Linked DNA regions of Homo sapiens: all the other regions are linked to region 3. The links are contacts of gene promoters, found by promoter capture Hi-C in blood cells and fetal thymus (Javierre and others, 2016). All regions are on one chromosome and are shown on one strand. The core of a region is centred on a gene start or on the middle of the fragment in contact, and the rest is flanking DNA. Distances in the headings are between cores, read along the strand shown.

Region 1 (2,849 bases), core at 278-2,777, 1.2 Mb after region 3:
TTTACTGCAAATTATAATTATATATTTATTAGCATGATTATTTAAATGTCTGTCTCCTGCACAATACTGTAAATTCAATGAGGGCTGGGACCACGTCTGTTTTAAACACCATTGTATTTCTAATATCTAGTGTGCTTCCTGCACTTGGCAGGCACTCAGTAAATATTAGAATAAGTGAATGATTGAATTCAGGGCAAATATAAAGCATAGAGCTTATTACTGGATTGATGGAAACCAAAGCCAGAAAGGCAGCTTGATGCCAGACTGTAAAGGCTCTCAGTTCCTTGCTGAAGTATGGAGCCAGATTCATGAGTCAGGCCAGGTTGATGGTTGGGGAACAGTGAGCCCCCAGGCTGGATAGGGAAGGAATCCCTGGGCTGGGTATAGAGGTTCTTGATGTCCAGATCTGGAGTTTTACTGGAAGGATAGGAACAGGAGCCAGTTGTCAGGATAAAGAGGCAATAGACAACGGGTATTGAGACCACAAGTGTAGATTATTCATTGTAGAAGCTTAACTGGAGAATAACTGAAGGGATCAAAGAAAGGGACTCTTCTAGAAATAGACCTTTGGGTTTTGAAAGCAAGAAGAAAGGAAATAGTGTAAGGAATTATAAATGGCATAGAATTGGAGGGGGAAATCATTTAAAAAATGTGTTTGAATTGAAGGCCCTTTGGGAATGGGGAAGTGATAACTCTAGGGGAGTTGAAAGACTTTGTTTTAGAGTAGAGGAACTATGAGGCAGTGTACTTGATCGAACACCTCTGATAGTCCGAGTATGGTTACCTCAATAAGTAACCATTCCTCTTGCTCCAAGCCTGATGGGAAGGTAAACATAAGAATAGAAATTTCTTGAGCTGAAGTGAAGTGAAGGAACTCCCTCCCGAAAACCATGGCATGTCACGAGGAACGTTTATTGTAGGTTAGGCGGTCTGGTGCCTCTAGGGGGGACAATCAAATGATACAGGACCTCGAAGAGTCTTACTTTGGATTTCTGTGGCTTTATAATGTAGTATATTATGTAGTTCATTGCTGTGGCTTTATGCTTTTTTATTATTTACAAGTGATTTACTGATTTGTGAGCTCTTGAAACTGTGTCATTGCATGTTATGTTTACCCTGATAGTTGCATTTGCTTATAATTCTTTTTGCTTTGTCTTCAGTTCAGATATTTTGGATGGCAGTAGTAGCAGCAGTGGCTTATCCTCAGACCCGCTGGCTAAAGGCAGCGCTACCGCAGAGTCTCCAGTAGCATGCTCCAATTCATGCTCTTCGTTCATCTTGATGGATGATCTCTCACCCAAGTGACTTAACCATTTCTGATTCAACGTTTTAACTGCTGTTTCCTACATAAAATGTTTAGTGGGGAACGCAGAGAACTTTGATCCATAATGAGGATTAAAGTTTTACAGATTTCACACATTCTGATGCTATTATTACTCTTTGGCATCTCTCTTCTCCAAAGTTCAATTTTGTGAGCCTAGTGACCTTACTAGTATCTGGTTTTGCTGATCTCATTTTGGATTTAGTGATTAAATCTCAAATGCTGATTTTTGATTGCTTAGAGGAATCTTTTTTCTTAGTGCCTCAAAAAACACCTATTTTGAGTCTATACATTTAAGAAAGGCACTGATGTGTATTGCCTTTAATGGTCCTTTTCCGCAGCAGTGATATGACAGATTTGATCAGAAATTCTCTTGCTTGAGAGATTTTTTTTTGTCCTCTGTTGACTACATAGTTTCAAATCTCTCTTTATTTCATGATGATATATAAATTGCTTTTAATTATATTAAATTTTTATTTTTCTGCATCAGCTTCAAGTACATTATTTTGTTTCCCTTTCCTGTTTGAGCCGCTTATGCCATTTCTCACAGAGGGGAAGAAATACGTAGTTGCTTTCATTACTCTTATTGCTTCTTTGCTGTTGGGGTGTGTGAAGTGAGCATTGATTTTAGTGCTGAGAATGTAAACGGACTTACAGGATGCTTGGATTAGTCATCACAGGTTCTTATGACTTTGCTACCACAGTTGATATATTTCTCCTCAAACCTGTTGCCCTAAGGAATATATAAAATATTGTTGATATTTCTAGGTGGTGTTATCAAGGAGAAGAAATTCCTGCCTTGACCAGATGTGTGGAGCATCTACAAATGAATGAATAGTTATTTACACACAAACCACTGTGTACAAAAGCGTCCATGGAGCTGTCAGTGTCTCGAGTGGTATTATGAGGCCTCAGGTGCCTTGGGGTACATTGTCATGCTATAAGGGATGTATATCATAAGGTATGGTGGAAGAGGGGCCTTATGTGAATGATTGCCACATACTGTTTCTGTTGCTGCTTTTTTTCCGATTCCTTTTTGTCATTGGATTTGTTTGTTTTGTCATGTGGTGAATGGTGTTTTAGTTATTGTGTTGCTGCCAGAATCAGAATCCAGTTCTTGTTCTTACTGCCTTATAGTTATTGTGTTGCCACCAGAATCAGAATCCAGTTCTTGTTCATACTGCCTTGTAGTGAGGGCAGTTTAATATCTACAAAGAAGCTTTTAGAAGCTGAAAAAGTCAATGTGATTGTGCATTCTGCTTTTAAGAAGCTGTTTCAGCTATGAACTGTGTATGTGCTATAAGTGTGAGGTACCATAAGTTATTTAATTTTTAAAAGAGGAAACTCCTGAGTGAGCTGTTTAAGAAATCTGAGTGTGATCTATTGTTACGTTATTTATAACTAGGTAAAATGTCTGTCGTGATAGATTTCTTTTAACGTTCAGATACTGTGGTTGGGTTGTCTATATTTAATATGCAGATTTGCCTGCTGGAATCATAATCCATTTTTAAGTGAATGTAAGAAATGA
Region 2 (3,163 bases), core at 28-2,527, 1.5 Mb after region 3:
TTACCTTAAGTCATTACAATGCCTAATATGAAATAGAATCGCTTCTTTCTTAGGGTTCAAGTGGTTAATTATTTAATGTATTCATTCAACAAACCATCATCGAGGACCTCTTACAAGCCAAGTACTGTGCTAAGTGCTAGAGTTACGGCGGTGATTCCTGCCCTTAAAAAGTTTTAGTGGGAGAAACAACAGGTAACCAGGTCATTGCCAAAACAACAAAAATAATCATAATAAAGCAGGCTAAAGCATATTTAACTGGCCGGGGTTTTGACTATTTTAGCAAGCATGATCAGAACGGTTGAGGAGGGAGGCCAGCAGCTTGGCCGGTTCAACAAACAAGAAAAAACCAGTGAGGGTGGAGCTAAGATACCAGAGGCTGATTACGGTTAAGAATGTTCTTGAAGGTAAGGACCAGATTCTCATTTTCTATATCCTGGGGCATCGGTCAGCATGGAATCTGGATTCTAGCACATGTGAATTTCGGCTTGAAATGACCTAATGCCTTTTCCCTAGTTCCTTCGTGTGTCAAATACGCATGGTTACCGCTACCAGAGCTGTAGTGGGGCTTCAATGAGGCCATGAGCATCTCCATAAAGATGAACTACAGTGTGTGCAAAACTAAAGGCAAAACCTGGTCCCCACACGCCCTCCCAGGTGGTCGCTTTCCGTGCCGAGGCCCCTCCAGAGGTGCCCCGAGAACCTCACCATCGCACCCCAAACTTCCAGGGAAGGGCCTCTCCCGAGAAAGCCCCCACGCCCCCACCCCGCGCCATCATTCCCGAATCTGCCCTCGGCCCCTCCCCGCAGCACGCTCGCAGGCGGCACATGTCAACCAAAACGCCATTTCCACCTTCTCTTCCCACACGCAGTCCTCTTTTCCCAGGGCTCCCCCGAGGAGGGACCCACCCCAAACCCCGCCATTCCGTCCTCCCTGCCGCCCTCGCGTGACGTAAAGCCGAACCCGGGAAACTGGCCGCCCCCGCCTGCGGGGTTCCCTGGGCCCGGCCGCCCGAGCCCGCACTGCGGATCCCGCGCCTCAGGGCCCGGCCGCCACCTGCCGCGTGGGCCTGAACCGGCCAGGGCCGGCAGGCCGAGCTGCTCACCACGACGCCAGGGCTGCGGGTCGCCATAACGGAGCCGGCCGGCGCGCGGGCTGACTGCTCAGGAGGAGGAAGCCGGTGGCGGAGCAGAGGAGGAGGCGGAGGCGCAGCAAGAGGCGGCGCCGCGCGGGAAAGCCGAGAGGTTCGCCTGAGGGCTCGTCGCAGCCGCCTGAAGCTGAGGAGAAGCAGGCCCCGCCCTCTGCCCGCCCCGCCACGCCCCGCAGGCCCCGCCCCCGGCCCCGCCCGCGCGCCTACGCCGGCGCCTACCAGTTTGCAGGCTCACTAGGTAGCCGTGGGAATTTTCTCCCAGAAGAAGCCGAGGCTCCCCCAGCGAAGCCCCTTTCCCTCCCAACTCAGTCTCCTATTCAGAGGGCTCCCTGATTCCCAAACCTACCGGCGCGCGTTGCTTCATGGCGGCCGTAAACCGGGCCCCGGCTCTTCGGGTTCCAGTCATCGCGTGAATCCTTGGACCAGACGTCCCATTCCCAAGACCTTGCACTACCTGTGGCTTCCATTTTCCTGACTCTTGGCCCAGTGCTTCCCCAAACCCTTAACTGGTTGTAACAGTTGAGACCTAGAGTCCTAGAGTCACCCAGATCAGGGTACACATCTGAGAGGACACTTAACTGCTCTGTAGTTTTGTACAAATCAGACTCTGAGCCTCTATTTTTGCCTCACTAAAATGAGCATATTAGCCCGGCGCGGTGGCTCATGCCTGTAATCCCAGCACTTTGGGAGGCCGAGGCAGGTGGATCACTCAAGGTCAGGAGTACGAGACCAGCCTGGCCAACATGGCGAAACCCCATCTCTACTAAAAATACAAAAATTAGCTGGGCGTGGAGGCGGGCGCCTGTAATCCCAGCTAGTCCGGAGGCTGAGGCAGGAGAATCACTTGAACCCGGGAGGCGGAGGTCGCACTGAGCTGAGATCGCACCACTGCACTTCAGCCTCCGCGACAGAATGAGACTCCGTCTCAAAAATAAATAAAAATAAAAATAAATAAAAATTTAAAAATAAAATGAGCATATTAACAATACATAAACAGGATCATTTTGAGTATTAGAGGAGTATAGGTATGCGTGTGTGTATGTATATATATATGCACTTAGGACAGTACAGTCAGCAAATGGGAACTACTGTTATTACTACTGATCTTTATTTTTGCCCACACAAGTTCTTATATTGAATCTGAAAACAAAAATATGTTCCCCTGCTAATTAATTCTCAGATAGGTCAGGTAAGCAAGCAACAGTTGCTCCAGCAACACCATTTCTTATATACTCAACCCTATAGCTCCAGCATCCACCACAGTGCCCAGCACATAGTTGGTGGCCTCCCTCTTATTAAGGACGCTGAGGGGTATGTGATGGCAGGAGATTTGTAAAACTAGGCAAGTCATTGAGCTTCTCTGGACCTCAGTCTCTTCATCTAAAAAATGAGAATAATAAACCTGGGTAACATGGTGAGACTCAGTCTCTACAAAAATGAAAAATTATCTGGGCCTGGTGGCCATGTGCCTGTAGCCCCAGCTACTTGGGAGGCTGAGGTGGGAGGATGGCTTGAGCCCAGGAGGTCCAGGCTGCAGTGAGCCAAGACTGTGCCACTGCACTCCAGCCTGGGCAACAGAGAAATATCCTGTCTCAAGAAAAAAGAAAAAGAGAGAGAGAGAGAATAATAACTACTGCCATGAAGAGTTTTACGAGAATTCTAAAAATCATTTATGTAAAGTACCTCATATAGTATTTGCCACATAATAGGTGCTCAAGAAACAGTAGCTGTTATAATTTTAGCATGTATGAATTTGTGAAGTCCATACTTCCCTACTTTCCCTGTCTTCCCTCTTTATCCTGGAGAGGCAGCAGGCTGTAATGGAAAAGGGATGTATGGGCTTTGGACTGAGTTCAAATCCTGGGTTCCCCACTATTATAGCATTTTGACTTTGGGCAAGATCCTTGGTCCCTGCGTGCTTGGTTTCTTATACGTCAAATGAGGTTAATATCTCTGTCACAGAGTGTGGTGAAGATTAAACAAAATAATATATGCAAAAGTGCCTAGCATAGAGC
Region 3 (2,968 bases), core at 442-2,941:
AGATCCTTTCAAATAGGGATACTGTCCCAATTATTTTCCGGAATTCATTTGTCATTCAACAAGCACTTATTGAATGCTTATCACATGACAGTCAAAGTTTTAGGTACAGAGAAATCTCTGTTCTCTCAGAGCTTACATTCCAGTGGGGAAAGACAGACAGTAAACAGTAACACAACAAACATAAATAGTTAAATTATATAGTATGTTAGAAGGTGATATAAAAAGTAGAACAGAATAAGGGGATCAGGAATAGGAATTTTGCACATTTAAAAGGGGTGGTCAGGATAGGACGCATCTTTGAGCAAAAGCAAATTGATGCAACTAAAACGTAGAATTCTGATTGGGTTAAAGGAAAAGAATGGTGATCATACTTTGCATTTACCTTGTGATATGCAGTTTACAAAGCTTTGCCACTCAGTCAGGGGTCACTGGAGGAACTGGTGCAGAATTTGGAAAAAAAGGATGAATTCCATTTTAGCCATATTACGTTTTAAGTGCCACAGGAAATAAATGCCTATCTGGTAGTCAGAAATGCAGCCCTGGAGCTAAGGAGAGATATTTGTGATAGAGATGTCGATTTGGAATCACTGTAATACCTTTGCTGGCTGAAGCGGTGGGAATGAATGGGTGAGCTCCCCAGGGGACAGCAGAGTGATGAGGTCAAGGGGAGAAGCTCACTATTAAATGTCTACATTTCAGGAGATGAAGACAAAGAAAAATGGGCAGAGGAGTATACATTTTACCCGGATCAGAGATAGAGACAAGGCAAGAAGGCTGCGTTATTAGCATTTTAAAATTTCCTCTTTCATTTCTTCCTTAATGTAAGCTGGTTCTTTTCACGACAAAACACTCCCCCCGCGCTACACCTCTTTTTGCGCGAATCTTTCTCCAGGACCTTAAAATGGTTTACTGAGCACTTCCCGCGAGCCAAGTATTTGGGGTTCCAGATCCTGGGATTTTGTCCTGACACTGCCTCCTCGTTTTAACACCCTTGCCTCCTTCTGCAGTGCCAGTTTCCAGGGAGCTGAAGCACAGGAAAGGCCTACAGAAAACAAAAGGCACAGTTTCACAAAAAGCCAAAACCAACCAACCCACAAAACACAACTGTCAGGGGTCTATATCCAGCACCTACCGCCTTTCCCCAACGCCCCCAGCCCCGCCCCTCGGCCCCACCTCCTCCCGCCCCTCGGCCCCACCTCCTCCCCGCCCCCTCGGTCCCACTCCTCCGCGCCCCCTCGGTCCCACCTCCTCCCCGCCCCTCGGTCCCACCTCCTCCCCGCCCCCTCGGCCCTCACCCACTCTCCGTCCCCTCCGCCCCGCCCCCTACGCCCCACCCATCCTCCCGTAGGCCCCGCCCTCGGCCCCACCTCCTCCCCGCCCCTCGGCCCCACCTCCTCCCCGCCCCTCGGCCCCACCTCCTCCCCGCCCCTCGGCCCCACCCATCCTCCCCGCAGGCCCCGCCACTCGACCGCACCCACCAGGGCCCCCCCCCCCCGGCTACGCCCACCCACCCACCCACTGGCCCCGCCCCTCGGCTACACCCACCCTCGTGCGGGCCCCGCGCGTCTTCCCCACCCCGCCCGTCTGCCTACCCCGCCCCTCGCCCCCACACGTTCTCTACGCAGGCCCCCGTCCCTCTGCCCCACCCTGTTCTCGCCACTGGCCCTGCCCCCATTTGCCGGCGCCCTTCCTCTTCGCTTCCCCGTAGCTCCCGCTTTCGCCTCTTCGTTTATGACTCCGTTGGGCTCCGGCCCTCCTAGAGAGGCCTCCATAGCGCAGGTTCGTGGGTTCTCGCGGACCTTTTTCCGTGTAGCTTTCTGCTTCTTCCCGGCATTCCTGTTTCCGTTTTCTCACAGCCCTCTGGCTTTTCCACCACTGAGACACTTTGCGCTCAGGACTTCAGTGACGTCATCTTTCTGCGGCGCGCGGACACCCGCCGGTGGAAGAAGAAACAGCTCCGCCGTCCTTCGCTTCTTTTGCTGGGCTGCTGCTCCTTCGGCATCATGGCGCCGTCGCTGTGGAAGGGGCTGGTGGGCATCGGTCTCTTTGCCCTAGCCCACGCCGCCTTTTCCGCTGCGCAGCGTAAGTGCCTGGGGCACGGGGACCGCTTCGGTGTGGAACCCTAGGGGCGGTGTGTGGGCGCACTTCTAAGGGACCATCGGACCGAGTGTCAGATTAATGGTCCTTTGAGACCTTACAGTTTGGGGTGACTAAGAAAATCAGTGCAGGAGTTCCCAGTGGAAGGTTCGGAGTTTGAATTTGGAGAGAGTGTGGCACCTGAAATTGCAGGAAGGTTGGAAGGAGGTGTCTGGGAGAGGGTTCAGAATAGGAGTCTCCAGGAATCCAGGACAAGTGATGTCAGATCCAGCATGGGGCAGATCAGGCACAGTTGTGAGATTGAGGACTCTGGTTGCTCATGGTCCCACGACAACCAAGTGGACAACATCTTGGGCACTCTTGGGCTGTCCAGGCAGAGACTGAGTAGTTAAGTGACCGATTGCCTCAGGGAGGCACTGTGGTACAGGAGAAAGAGCACTGGACTGGGAGTCTAAAGGACTGGTTGTTAAAAACTTGCATTACCGCTACATCTGTGTGACGTTGGGCAAAAGATTTGTGCTACACTGCGTTATGAAATTCAGTTTTGGGTCGCTGTTTGAAATTGCGCTGTGTTTAGGTGCTAGAGATACAGTGATGCCCTGAGCCAGTTCAAAGTCTAAAGGAAAACAAGTGGATCAAGAAGTAGTTACAATAAAGTGATATGCTAAAAGTATATAAGGATGCATGGAAGCAGGGACAGTCATATTTTGGGGGAACTGGGAGGTTAAGGAAAGTATCCTAGATCCTTGCTGCTTACAGTGTGATCAACAGACCAGCATCATGAGCACCACCTGGCAGGTAATTAGAAGATACTCAGGCCAGACCTGTTCAATCAGAATCTGGGTTTTAATAAGATCCCAGGGTGATTTGT
Region 4 (3,067 bases), core at 46-2,545, 1.2 Mb after region 3:
AACCCCAAACCTGTAAAGATATAAATAGGACTCATAGTACATACACAAATTGGAATATCAAAAGGAACAAGTAATACAAAAACAGCAAGAATTCTATATGCTACAATGGCAAACACAACATTAAAGAAATTGTTTTTACTTCTCCCCATTTCTACGCACACATTATTATACCAACCTAGCTGTGTTTCTTGATCAGTCCTTCCAGTTCCAGGGAAATATGCCATGATCTTGGGACACTGCTTTTGTTAGATCTAGACTTGACAATTAGGCTACTCCTCTCTTTGCATATCCCAGTCTGCTGCGTCTGTCCCAGGCCCTCACCTATAAAAGGGAACCAACAAACATGTGATAATCAGCTCTTTATTTTACCAGTTGTCATGACAACCTTGAAGCTACGTTGTAACCTTTAGTTACCACAAGAGCAAGTCAAATACAAGTCAAACCCAAATCTACAAACCACAAACACCCCAAACCTTCCCAAAAGATTTACATGAAAGGTTAAAAAAAAAAAAAAAACTAGCAGGCAAGAATGATGTTAATAAAACCTAGAAATGATGGCCAAAGTAGCATTATTCTCCTCGCGTTCTCCTAAATTGTTAAGCTCCTGAGGTCAGTGCATGCATGTGGTCAACAAATGATTGTTTAGTAGCTATTGTGAACAAAAGAATGTATTATAATTTCTTTTGAGCAGGGAGTAGGAGGTGGGGCTGGCCTTAAGGGTTGCTGAGACCTTGAGATAAAAAGAGATACCTAAGTTGCTCAAAAACAGAGGTTGTTGTTTCTAATCTAGCTGGGAGAAAAATACAGGCAATTTAAAGGAAACTATCTAAAAGTACTTACAAATCCCTCATACTGCAGGCAGAAAGCATAAACAGTGAGGAATAAAATGATAATTGGCCTTGGCAAGTTTAGTATGGGATAATTGAAAAGAGGCAGGCAAAATTATTATTTCTGGCTGAATTTTGAAAGCAATTTCAGAACTATTACATTTCAATGCAATGGCCTTCTCTTCCCCAGGGCCATTCAAGTGGTGAGGATTAAAAGAGTTTGTGGAGTCCTGATAAGATAAGTAAGAAACAATGAGAAAGGGGCCCCAGGTGGGGAAGAACAATGAAAAATTGTTCTGAGAGACCTAGGGCACAAAGACCTCCTTCCACATGTGGCCCCAGCAGCATGACTTGTTTCCACATGCAGCCCCCTCCAGCTCCCTCCAGCCCCTGCCTCTTTGCAGACAGCTCCTCCTCTGCAGTGCTGCCCTTTGCCTCCTTGCAACATACTTCCATACCTTCTCTAGTAAATCTGCCTTTCTTTACCTACAACTGTCTTGGTCAATTCCTTTACCACCTGCGCCACTGGCCAGCTGCACCTGCAACATTTTGGTAGTTCGTATGGGCCTCTCCCCTACTTTCTCCCTTTCCTCCAATTCCAACCTCTCGTTGGACAGTGTCAAAACCCTGAGATAATTTTAAGTCCCTGGCCGGGGCTGCTCCCCAGGGAACCAGAAGGTCCTGGTGGAAAGACACCAGACTGCTGTCCCACGATTCTGTGAGACTTCAGAATTTGCTTTACTTTTCAGTCTTCCAGAGGACAAATTCTAGTATCCCTCTGGCAATTGATGGCAACTGGTCAGGGCCATTTCCTGGTGTGGCCTCAAGGCCAGCGGGTGTGAACAGGTTTGGCTGCCTTGCCTAGAAGGGAAGAAGGCCCTCTCCTATCTCTTCTGGCGAAAAGGTCTGCAATCCCTATGTAGTGCAATTGGCACATATGTTTTGGGGAGCTCAGAGCCCCTCTTTCTTACTCTAAATAGTCCTGCAAAAACAGCCAGACCTCCTGCTCTGGACGTTCCCAAATTAGGTGATAGCAAGCAGCCTCAGAGCAGTGAGTCTCCCCATTCTGGTCCTCTCTCCTGGGATGGGACCAGGCTGAGTTCTTCCTTTACCCTTTTTCCTTGTACCGGGGCTAACCATCCAGCGTAAGGCCCCAGCGCTGAGATGTCCTTTCTAATAGGTGGGATGCCCCTTTAGAGAGTGCACTTGAGGCCGGGCACGGTGGCTCATGCCTGTAATCCCAGCACTTTGGGAGGCCGAGGTGGGTGGATCACCTGAGGTCAGGAGTTCAAGACCAGCCTGGCCAACATGGCGAAACCCCATCTCTACTAAAAATACAAAAAATTAGCTGGACGTAGTGGTGCATGCCTGTAATCCCAGCTACCTGGGAGGCTGACACAGGAGAATCGCTTGAACCTGGGAGGCGGAGGTTGCAGTGAGCCGAGATCCCACCACTGCACTCCAGCCTGGGCGACAAAGCGAGATTCCATCTCAAAAGAAAAGAAAAGAAAGTGCACTGGAATCCCTCAGCAGATGTGAGTTGAGCCCTCTTCCTGGTGGGGCAGGGGGGTGGGGGCGGCGAGAGAGTGTGGTTCGTGTCTGCAGCAGACGTTAGTCCCCGGCAGCTCATCGTTTTCCAGTCCCACCATGGGACAAACCTCCTCTATTCCGTCAGACTCACCTATGAGTTGCATCCCAAAACGCTGAGACAAATGTAACCCTCAGATTAAAAAAAAAAAAAAAGTCGAATTTTCTTTTGTAATACAGCATGGCCCCTATGCAGAAAACCTCAAATCAGTCTCCTCAGTCTTTTATAACCAAGAGCAGGATAAGGACAGGGCTAAGGAGAAAGAAAAATGCAGGGACAAGAAGCAGGCTCAACTGTTGGCTGCTTTGCAAGCCCCCAGCCTCCATTCCAGGCTGCCCTAAGGATACTCCTCCAGATAACTGCCATCAGTGCAGAAGCCCAGGCCACTGGAAGGCAAACTGGCCCTATGGCATGAATGACGAAAAACCCCCGCATGGCTTGCCCCCTCTGCCACAAGCTCGGCCACTGGAAATGGGACTGCCCTGGAGGGCCAAAGGGTCCCTGGGACATAATCCCAACCCCTGATGATCATCAGGCCTTAAGCTGAATGGGGGCTTTCTGCTTTGGCTAGCTTCCAGATCAAACATGAGTCATCAACAAAACAAAACCAAGGGCAACTCTGGAGGTGGCAAGTATTATAAACTTCCCTTTT

What was found. Contacts are between HindIII fragments. The CHiCAGO score rates a contact against its expected background, and 5 or more counts as called.
Region 1: a contact is called between a fragment that was not itself captured here and the fragment with the promoter of MMGT1 in region 3, in 1 of 17 cell types (neutrophils). The highest score is 5.0, in neutrophils.
Region 2: a contact is called between the fragment with the promoter of HPRT1 here and the fragment with the promoter of MMGT1 in region 3, in 2 of 17 cell types (monocytes and neutrophils). The highest score is 6.2, in monocytes.
Region 4: a fragment that was not itself captured here is called in contact with the fragment with the promoter of MMGT1 in region 3 in 4 of 17 cell types (total CD8 T cells, total B cells, naive CD4 T cells and 1 more); the score reaches 7.7 in total CD8 T cells.

Annotation. Positions count from the first base shown.
Region 1 is chrX:134,770,595-134,773,443 of GRCh38, reverse strand. PABIR2 (PABIR family member 2) reads left to right here. Exons shown (of 10, transcript NM_001387468.1): 10 at 1,161-2,849. The coding sequence ends at 1,305. Among named protein-coding and RNA genes, the nearest start is that of PABIR2, 25 kb to the left of the region's middle. The HindIII fragment of the contact is 2,030 bases long and covers 513-2,542 here.
Region 2 is chrX:134,458,279-134,461,441 of GRCh38, reverse strand. It overlaps HPRT1 (hypoxanthine phosphoribosyltransferase 1), which reads right to left and starts at 1,277. Exons shown (of 9, transcript NM_000194.3): 1 at 1,104-1,277. The coding sequence starts at 1,130. RefSeq lists silencers at 1,006-1,185, 1,286-1,405. The HindIII fragment of the contact is 6,801 bases long and covers 1-3,163 here.
Region 3 is chrX:135,972,711-135,975,678 of GRCh38, reverse strand. MMGT1 (membrane magnesium transporter 1) reads left to right here and starts at 1,691. Exons shown (of 4, transcript NM_173470.3): 1 at 1,691-2,082. The coding sequence starts at 2,004. It also overlaps a transcript of SLC9A6 not described here. RefSeq lists a silencer at 1,493-1,602 and an enhancer at 1,613-2,142. The HindIII fragment of the contact is 2,640 bases long and covers 408-2,968 here.
Region 4 is chrX:134,801,355-134,804,421 of GRCh38, reverse strand. It overlaps a transcript of PABIR3 not described here. Among named protein-coding and RNA genes, the nearest start is that of PABIR3, 4.3 kb to the left of the region's middle. The HindIII fragment of the contact is 7,504 bases long and covers 1-3,067 here.